Linked DNA regions of Homo sapiens: regions 1 and 3 are each linked to region 2. The links are contacts of gene promoters, found by promoter capture Hi-C in blood cells and fetal thymus (Javierre and others, 2016). All regions are on one chromosome and are shown on one strand. Each heading gives the region's core, a stretch centred on a gene start or on the middle of the fragment in contact. The rest is flanking DNA. Distances are from core to core; before and after follow the strand shown.

The links. The method cuts DNA at HindIII sites, captures the fragments that hold promoters and counts their contacts. A CHiCAGO score of 5 or more calls a contact.
Region 1: a contact is called between a fragment that was not itself captured here and the fragment with the promoter of EBI3 in region 2, in 1 of 17 cell types (erythroblasts). The highest score is 5.4, in erythroblasts.
Region 3: a contact is called between a fragment that was not itself captured here and the fragment with the promoter of EBI3 in region 2, in 1 of 17 cell types (erythroblasts). The highest score is 5.1, in erythroblasts.

What each region holds. Positions count from the first base shown.
Region 1 is chr19:3,830,033-3,833,291 of GRCh38, forward strand. It overlaps ZFR2 (zinc finger RNA binding protein 2), which reads right to left. Exons shown (of 19, transcript NM_015174.2): 4 at 1,628-1,846; 5 at 1,271-1,524. Among named protein-coding and RNA genes, the nearest start is that of ZFR2, 37 kb to the right of the region's middle. RefSeq lists an enhancer at 1,221-1,810. The HindIII fragment of the contact is 1,366 bases long and covers 779-2,144 here.
Region 2 is chr19:4,227,990-4,231,057 of GRCh38, forward strand. EBI3 (Epstein-Barr virus induced 3) reads left to right here and starts at 1,534. Exons shown (of 5, transcript NM_005755.3): 1 at 1,534-1,628. The coding sequence starts at 1,562. RefSeq lists enhancers at 1,754-1,843, 2,807-3,068. The HindIII fragment of the contact is 27,046 bases long and covers 1-3,068 here.
Region 3 is chr19:3,848,043-3,851,338 of GRCh38, forward strand. All of the region lies in intron 1 of ZFR2 (zinc finger RNA binding protein 2), which reads right to left. Among named protein-coding and RNA genes, the nearest start is that of ZFR2, 19 kb to the right of the region's middle. RefSeq lists an enhancer at 1,483-1,984. The HindIII fragment of the contact is 2,011 bases long and covers 378-2,388 here.

The sequences.
Region 1 (3,259 bases), core at 212-2,711, 400 kb before region 2:
ACTCAGCTTGTCATCCTGGCACTATGGGAGGCTGAGGCAGAAGAATTCCTTGAGCTTAGGAGTTCGAGACCAGCCTGGGCAACATAGTGAGACCCTGTATCTACAAAAAAATTTTTTTTTAAATAGCCAGGCATGGTGGTGTGCACCTGTAATCCCAGCTACTCAGGAGGCTGAGGTAGGAGGATCGCTTGGGCCCAGGAGTTCGAGACTGGACCTGGGCGACATAGTGAGACCCCATCTCTATTGAAAATTTAAAAAATTAGCTGGGCATGGTGGTTCGTACCTGTCTCAGCTACTTGGAAGGCTGAGGGGAGGATCACTTGAACCCAGGAGGTGGAGGCTGTAGCGAGCTGTGATTGTACCACTGCACCCTAGCCTGAGCAACAGAGCGAGACTTTGTCTCCAAAAGAAACTCAAACTTCTATGCGAGCACTCTGCAAAGAAGGCCGGGGTCTCTCCCAGCATGAGACACAGTGGAGAGCTGCTGGAGGAAAGAGTCTGAGACAGGGAAAGGGTGATCTGGGGCGGGAGGGGTCCTGAGCAGGGACCGGCCCCCCATCCCCAGCTGGGTCAGGGGTCCTGATAACGGTGTCCTGAGCCTTCTCACACCTCTCCAGAGTCTGCGATTGCAGACTCCGTGTCTCTCCGCGGTCCAGAGCTTCCTTTCAGAGTATTAAAAACAAAAGAAGATCAGGGTGTGTGTTTTGCAAAGACAGAGCTCTAGGGTCTAATTATCTTTCCAGGAATTGAGCCCACGATCTCAGCTGGGTGATTTGCAAGCTTTAAAATCTCAAGCTCGTGTGTTTGGTAAAGATTCTTTCACGTATGTCCCAAACAAGCACTGCCAAGCACAAGCACGCATGCACACACACACACGGGCGCATGCACACACATACACATGCAGGCATACATGCGCACACATACACACACGCACACACATGCACACACATACACACACGCTTGCACACACAGGCACATGCAGGCACACATGCGCACACATACGTGCAAGCACACATACATGCACACTCACGTTTGCACACACATATGCACACATATACACATGCATAAACACACGCACACATACACACTCACACTTGCACACACACACAAGCGCTTGCACACACAGGCCATGCATACAACATGCAAGTTAACACCAGACCTTCTTTCAGCAGGCAGCGACCCTGACCACCCCACCGGCGCCCACATTCGGGTTCAGACGTTGGGGACAGAGAGGTCCCTGGGGCCTGCCCATGGCAGGAGGGCGACTGACCTGGGGGCCAGCGCAGCTGATCTTGCAGATGTCGCAGTAGTGAAGCTGGAGCTGCCTGGGCCCCGCCTTGGGTCTCGGCAGCTTGCTGGGAAGCGGTGGCTTCGAGTCGGCCCTGGGGCTGCTTCCTGAGCCTGCAGGCGCGGGCGGCGGGGGCAGCTGCTGCGGGGGTCCCGGGGGAGGCGGGGGCTGCGCTGGAGGATAGAAAGGGCTGGCAGCGGAGTACACCGACGCGTCATAGTTCGGGTAGCTTGGTGCTGAGCAGCAGAGAAAACAATGAGTCGGGGGGAGATGCTGATTCCACTGAGTTGAAGTGGGGACCGACGGGCAGACCACCTGGGCAAGGAACGCTGGTCTTACCCGTGTAGGCGGTGCAGGTGGGGTTGTAGGAGGGCGGGGGGTAGGAGGTCACGATGGAAGCTGACGACTCGGGCTGGACGCCTGTCGCCGTGGGGTAGGTGTATCCCGAGGACAAGGTGCTCGCTGGCTGTCCGGACTCCACTATGGGCGCCTGCTGTGGGGGCTGAGCGTGGCTGTGACTGCCATGGGGGCTGGGCTGCCCGCAGGCTTCTTGGGTCCCTAGGGGACAGGGACAGGCCCTCTGCAGAGCCAACCCCCACCCCACTGTCCCTCACCTGCAGATGGGCCCTGGACTCAACTGGCTGGAACACGCTAGATGCTTAAGCCAGGACCAGAGGCCAGAGCCTTGGGCCAGGTGCTGGCAGCGACTCGCAGGTTACCTTGTGCCCACCTCTCCTTTCCAGAGCCCGGCTTCTCTCTCCTGCCATGGGGGAGGAGGGCTGTGGGTGCCCTAGACAAGCTCCTCTGCATCTCCAGCTCCATCACCCACAGAGCTCACCTCCTGCCACCCCGGGAAAGCTTCCTTGGAAAAAATGTTAGCTGCATTTTCAGTCCTCACTTTCCTTCATTCATAGGCCCACACCTGGCAGAGATCCCAGGGCCCATCTGAGCAGCCAGCTCTGAGGCTCACCTGCAAATCTAGGATGTTTTTATTATCATTATTATTATTTTTTTTTTTTTGAGTCGGAGTCTTGCTTTGTCACCAGGTTGGAATGCAGTGGCATGATCTCGGCTCACTGCAACCTCCACCTTCCAGGTTCAAGTGATTCTCCTGCCTCAGCCTCCCGAATAGCTGGGATTACAAGCATGCGCCACCCTGCCCGGCTAATTTTTCTATTTTTAGTAGAGATGGGGTTTCACCATGTTGGCCAGGATGGTCTCGATCGCTTGACCTTGTGATCCACCCGCCTCTGCCTCGCAAAGTGCTGGGATTACAGGCGTGAGCTGCTGCACCCGGCCTTTATTTTGTTTTTTTTTTTTATTTTTTATTTTTTAGAGACAGGGTCTTGCTCTGCTGCCCAGGCTGGAGTGCAGTGGTGCGATCACAGCTCACTGCAGCTCAGTTCCTGGGCTCAGGCGAACCTCCTACCTCAGCCTCCTGGGTAGCTGGGACTACAGGTGCACACCACCATGCCTGGCTAATTTTTTTGCATTTTTTGTAGAGACGGGGGTCTTACTATGTTGCCCAGGCTGGTCTCGAACTCCTAGGTTCAAGCAATTCTCCCACCTCGGGCCTCCCAAAGTGTTGGGATTACAGGCGTGAGCCACCGTGCCCGGCCTCTAGGATGGTTAACATGTAACTTTCACGGGGTGCAGTGGCTCACGCCTGTAATCCCAGCACTTTGGGAGGCCGAGGCAGGTGGATCACCTGATGTCAGGAGTTCAAGACCAGCCTGGCTAACATAGTGAAACCCCGTTTCTACTAAAAATAGAAAAAAATTAGCCAGGCATGGTGGCGCGTGCCTGCAGTCCCAGCTACTTGGGAGGCTGAGGCAGGAGGATTGTTTGAACCTGGGAGGCAGAGGGTGCAGTGAGCTGAGATCGCACCACTGCACTCCAGCCTGGGCAACAGAGTGAGACTCCGTCTCAAAAAAAAAAAAAAAAAAGAAAAGAAAAGAAAAGATGTAACTT
Region 2 (3,068 bases), core at 284-2,783:
CATCATCTCCCTGTCTCTCTCTGTCTCTGTGTCCTCCTCCTCTCATCTCTGTCTCTGTCTCTCTCATTCCCCTGTCTCTCTCTGTCTCTATCATCTCCCTATCTATCTCTGTGTCCTCCTCCTCTCATCTCTGTCTCTCTCTGTGTTTCTGTCTCTGTCATCCCCCTTTCTCTGTCTCTGTCATCTCCCTGTCTCTCTATCTCTGTGTCCTCCTCCTCTCGTCTCTGTCTCTCTGCCTCTCTCATCTGTATCTCTCTCTGTCTCTGTCATCTCCCTGTCTCTGTCTCTCTCTATCTCTGTGTCCTCCTCTCATTTGTCTCTCTGCCTCTCTCATCTGTATCTCTGTCACTTTCTCTGTCATCTCCCTGTCTCTCTATCCCTCTATCTCTGTGTCCTCCTCTCATCTGTCTCTCTGCCTCTCTCATCTGTAGCTCTCTCTGTCTCTGTCATCTCCCTGTCTCTCTATCCCTCTATCTCTGTGTCCTCCTCTCATCTGTCTCTCTGACTCTCTCATCTTTGTCTCTGTCTCTGTCTCTGTCATCTCCCTGTCTATCTCCGTGTCCTCCTCCTCTCATCTCTGCCTTTCTCATCTCTGTGTCTCTCTCTGTGTTTCTGTCTCTGTCATGCCCCTTTCTCTGTCTGTCATCTCCCTGTCTCTATCTATCTCTGTGTCCTCCTCCTCTCATCTCTGTCTCTCTCATCTGTATCTCTCTCTGTCTCTGTCGTCTCCCTGTCTCTCTATCTCTTTGTCCTCTTCCTCTTGTCTTTCTCTCTGCCTCTCTCATCTGTGTCTCTCTCTGTCTCTGTCTCTGTCATCTCCCTGTCTCTGTCTCTCTCTCTCTGTGTCCTCCTCCTCTCGTCTCTTTCTCTCTGCCTCTTTCATCTGTGTCTCTGTGTCTCTCTGTCATCTCCCTGTCTATCTCTGTGTCCTCCTCCTCTCGTCTCTGTCTCTCTGCCTCTTTCATCTGTGTCTCTCTGTCTCTGTCTCTGTCATCTCCCTGTCTCTGTATCCCTCTATCTCTGTGTCCTCCTCTTCTTGTCTCTGTCTCTCTGCCTCTCTCATCTGTGTCTCTCTCTGTGTCTCTGTCTCTGTCATCTCCCTGTCTCTCTGTGTCTTCCTTCTGTCTTCTCTGTCTCTCTGCCTCTCTCCCCCATCTCTGCCTCTGTCTCCCTCCATGTCCCTGAGCCCCTGCCTGCCTGCCTGGGGTTTCCCCCGCTTCAGGGCAGCGGAAGGAAGGCCAGCAGGACATGCTGTGCTGGGAAAAGCCAGCAGGTCTCCACTTCTCCCTTTCACAGCCTCCTCCCCCGCCCCCACCCTCGGGGCCTTCCGAGCAGGGGTGGCCTGTGCTCCCCAGGGGGCTGGGGCTCCTCCACACCCTAATTCATCTCCCTAGCGGCCCCACGAGCCCCACCAGTGAGTCAGACCTGAAGGAAGTCGGGGAGGGGGCGGGCCTTGACCCTGGGCTGGGCTTTCCCCTGGGCAGGTCCCAAGTCCTCACCTCCCCTCTCAAGTCTCCCACGACGTTCCCACCCACTCCTGAGAGCAGAGCTGGCCGCAGCCATGACCCCGCAGCTTCTCCTGGCCCTTGTCCTCTGGGCCAGCTGCCCGCCCTGCAGTGGAAGGAAAGGTATGTGGGGCCCCTGGGGGACTGGGGGGCCCAGGCAGACGGACATGACACGAGGACTGGCCTCGGATCATGTCTGGGGTGGGAAATCACATCCTCCCGTGCCCAATGGTGGGATGGGGTTACCCTCCCATTGTACAGATGGAGGAACTGAGGCACAGAGAGGCAGAGTGCCACATTGGGGGTGGAAGGATGTCACCTTGTGGGTGATAGGGACTGGCAGTCACAGCTCAGAGGTATCCATAGAGCTACACAGACATAGCTACACAGACATGCGAATTTGAGTCACACTCATTCCTTTGGTTTCTTTTTGGTTTTGTTTTTTGAGACAGAGTCTCACTCTGTCGCCCAGGCTGGAGTACAGTGGCACCATCTCAGCTCACTGAAACCTCCATCTCCTGGGTTCAAGCGAGATTCTCCTCCCTCAGCCTCCCGAGTAGTTGGGATTACAGGTGCCCGCCACCATGCCCGGCTACTTTTTATATTTTTAGTAGAGATAGGGTTTTACCATGTTGGCCAGGGTGGTCTTGAACTCCTGACCTCAGGTGATCCACCCACCTCGGGCTCCCAAAGTGCTGGGATGACAGATGTGAGCCACCGCGCCCGGCCGACATTCATTCATTTTGCACTAGAGAACATCTCCATGTCCTTGAAGACAAAATGGTTACAGCAGGGCATGGTGGCTCATGCCTGTAATTCCAGCACTTTGGGAGGCCAGGGCGTGAGGATCGTGAGGCCAGGAATTCGAGACCAGCCTGGGCAACATAGTGAAACCGGACCCCACCAATCTGTACAAAAAATTAAAAAATTAGCTAGATGTGGTGGCACGTGCCTGTAGTCCCAGCTACTTGGGAGGCTGAGGTGGGAGGATAATTTGAGCCCAGGAATTGGAGGCTGCAGTGAGCTATGATTGTGCCACTGCATTCCAGCCTAGGTGACAGAGTGGGATACCTTGTCTCAAAATAATAATAATAATAATAATTTATAGGCTGGGTTTGGTGGCTCACGCCTGTAATTCCAGCACTTTGGGAGGCCAAGGCAGGTGGATCACCTGAGGTCAGGAGTTTGAGACCAGCCTGGCCAACATGGTGAAACTCCCTCTCTACTAAAAATACAAAAATTAGCCAAGCGTGGCAGTACATGCCTGTAATCCCAGCTACTCGGGAGGCTAAGAATCGCTTGAACCCGGGAGGCGGGGGTGGCAGTGAGCCGAGATCTCGCCACTGCACTCCAGCCTAGGCGACAGAGGGAGACTCCCTCTTTAAAAAAAAAAAACAATTACAAAAGAGAGAACACGGTAAAATCTCTCTCTCTTACCCGAGTTCCTCTCTGTAGATGCTTAAACCTCAGCTTCCCTATCTGGAAAATGGGCTAGTAGTCCTCACCTAGATGGATTGCAGTGGGGATAAAAGATGACAGATGACTTTTGTCCATGTACCTATT
Region 3 (3,296 bases), core at 133-2,632, 380 kb before region 2:
GCAGGGGCAGGGAAATCCAAGTACGGTTGCAGCTCTAGAGCCCTTTGGACTGAGACCTGCTGCCTCTTTTGTATAAAAAGCTTTCATGGCTGGGCACAGTGGCTCACGCCTGTAATCCCAGTACTTTGGGAGGCCGAGGCAGGTGGATCACCTGATGTCAGGAGTTCGAGACCAGCCTGGCCAACATGGTGAAACCCCGTCTCTGCTAAAAATGCAAAAATTAGCCAGGCATGGTGGCGGGCGCCCGTAATCCCAGCTACTTGGGAGGCTGAGGCAGGAGGATCGCTTGAATGGGGGAGGTGGAGGTTGCAGTGACCCAAGACTGTGCCATTGCACTCCAGGCTGGGCAATAAGAGCGAAACTCCATCTCGGAAAAAAGCTTTCATGGCCAGGTGTGGTGTCTCACACCTGTAATCCCAGCACTCTGGGAGGCCAAGATGGGAGGATCTCTTGAGCCCAAGAGTTTAAGACCAGCCTGGGCAACATAGCAAGATCCCATCTCTACAAAACAGAAAAATTAGCCAGGCATGGTGGTGCACCTGCAGTCCCAGCTCCTCAGGAGGCTGAGGCAGGAGGATTTCTTGAACCTAGTAGGTTGAGATCACACCACTGCACTCCAGCCTGGGCAACAGAGCAAGACCCCATCTCTTAAAAACACAAAGTGTTAGGCTGGGCGCGGTGGCTCACGCCTGTAATCCCAGCACTTTGGGAGGCTGAGGTGGGCGGATCACGAGGTCAGGAGATCGAGACCATCCTGGCTAACACGGTGAAACCCCGTCTCCACTAAAAATACAAAAAAAAATTAGCCAGGTGTGGTGGCGGGCACCTGTAGTCCCAGCTACTCAGGAGGCTGAGGCAGGAGAATGGCATGAACCCCGGAGGCGGAGCTTGCAGTGAGCCGAGATCACACCACTGCACTCCAGCCTGGACAACAAAGCGAGACTCCGTCTCAAAACAAAACAAAACAAAACAAAACAAAAACCAAACAAACAAAAACACAAAGCGTTCAGTACTAGATAGTAAATCGTGAGTAGCTTTCTGGGGAGGAAGCTCCATTCTTCTCTGGCTTCCCTGGGTCCTGAGACCTTGCCCCTCCAACCTGGAGGCCCAGGCGTGCTGAGCAGCACCAGCAGAGGGCTGTGGGGGCAAGTGAACCTCAGGTGGAAGGCTGAGCAGAGTCCTTCAGCCCAGGACCCCAAGGAAGGAGCAGGAACCTGTGGGGCTTTCTCTATCTGCTCCTGCTGTGCCTCCGCACACAGCTTTGTCTCCACCTGGTGGACACCCCACCTAAGAGGACAGTGGAGGCGGCTGGTTGGTGAACTGGCTCCATGGCAGAGATCAGACAGCCCATGCAGCAGAGGGCAGAGCTTTCCAACTCAGGCCCTTCTGACATTTGGGACAACATTGTTCTCTGGGGTGGGGCCGTTCTGGGCCCTGCAGCGTGCTGAGCAGCGTCCCCAGCCTCCACCCACTCCATGCCAGGAGCTCCCCCAAATCGTGACAATGACAAATGTTCCCAGACCTTGACCAGTTAAGAACTGATGGTCTAGGACAAGCTCAATGCCAGGGCGTAGCCTTGTGCAGGTGGACAGAGCCAAAGGCTGCTTCCTGCCTGGTTCAGCCCATACTCTGGAAGGATCCCCAGGATGTTGTAGGCTGGCCTCTGACTTGGAGTCAGGCTTGAGTCAGCACCATGAAGACAGTGAATGAAAAAGAACACGCTCTTCTTGTAGACAACCCTGAACAGCAATGCTCAGGCACGCTACAGTTTGGAATCCACTGAGCCAGGGCGCAGGGAAAATGGATGTGCGACCAACATGCAGATGGCTGGACGTCCGCTGGCTGAGGGCAGGTCTCAGCATCCCTGCTGGCCTGCAGGGCAACTCCCACTGGTTTCAGTGTTACACCCTGTGAACGTCACAGCTGTGAGCAGACTGAGGACCTGTGAGGGATACAGGGTCAGGGTGACATCAGGCAAGATACCCTTGACCTCGCCGCAGGTCCCCACCCTGTCCCGCCACTCTGCTGTCTGATGGCAGGAATGGAGTGCCTCTCCTACACAGATAACAGAGACGCGGGGGCAGAGGCAGCGAAACCCAGGCACCCTCTGGGAGAAGGAGGGGCATGCCAACTGCTCTGAAGACCCAGGAGGCTCCCCCAGAGGCTGGAAAAGCCCCGGGGAAGGGTGCCTGGGATTTCAAAGAGGAGGGGCTCGCTGAGAGGAGCGTGGGAGAAATGAGGAGTGCTGGTGGGGCGACTGTCCTGGGTGCTGAGGGACAGAGGTTATCAGGGTGAGGGGTGACGGGAGGCAGCTCAGGGCTCTCCAGTGCCAGGTAGAACCTGGGATTTATCCTCAGCCATGAGGAGCCACCTGGGCATCTCATGACAAGCTTTGGCCTGAATTACGTCCCCCTGCCCCCAATTCTTATGTTGAAGCCCTAACCCCCATGTGACTGTATTTGGAGATGAGGCCTTCAGGGAGGGAATGAAGGTTATATGACGTCATCAGGTGGGGACTGATCTGAGCAGAACTGGGGTCCTTATAAGAAAAGGAAGAGGCCGGGCACAGTGGCTCACACCTCTAATCCCAGCACTTTGGGAGGCTGAGGCAGGAGGATCACTTGAGCCCAGGAGTTAGACATCAGCCTGGGCAAGATACTGGGATCCCATCTCTACAGAAAAACAACAACAACAACAACAACAACAACAAAACAAACACACACAAAAAAACCACACTTTGCGCCTGTGGATCCTTGGGAGGCTGAGGTGGGAGGCTCGATTAAGCTCAGGAGATTGAGGCTGCAGTGAGCTGTGATCTCACCACTGCACTGCAACCTGGATGACAGGGCAGTCTTTTCAAAAAAAAAAAAAAAAAAAAAAAGAGACACCAGCAGTGCACATGGACAGAGAAAAAGCCACAGGAGGACACTGTGAGGAGGTGGCCATCTGAAAGCCAAGGAGAGAGCCCTCACCAGAAACCACCCCCTGCTGGCACCTAGATCTCACACTTCTGGCCTCCAGAACAGGGAAAAAATACATTTTGTTTAAGCCTCAGTCTGTGGTATTGTTAGGGAAGCCCCAGCCGACCAAGACAGGTGGAGACGGTTAGAGAGGGGAGCAGTTAGAGGGAAGGCCCATTAAGGACACGAGACACACAGGGGCCAGAACTAGAGGGGGTGATGGACAGGGGGACAGAACACATGCGCCATCATGTCACCGGCAGGAAAGCACAGTCAAAGCCAGCTCTCAGCAGTGTAGGGCTTTACAAACACCTAAAACAGGGCCTGGGAACAGCC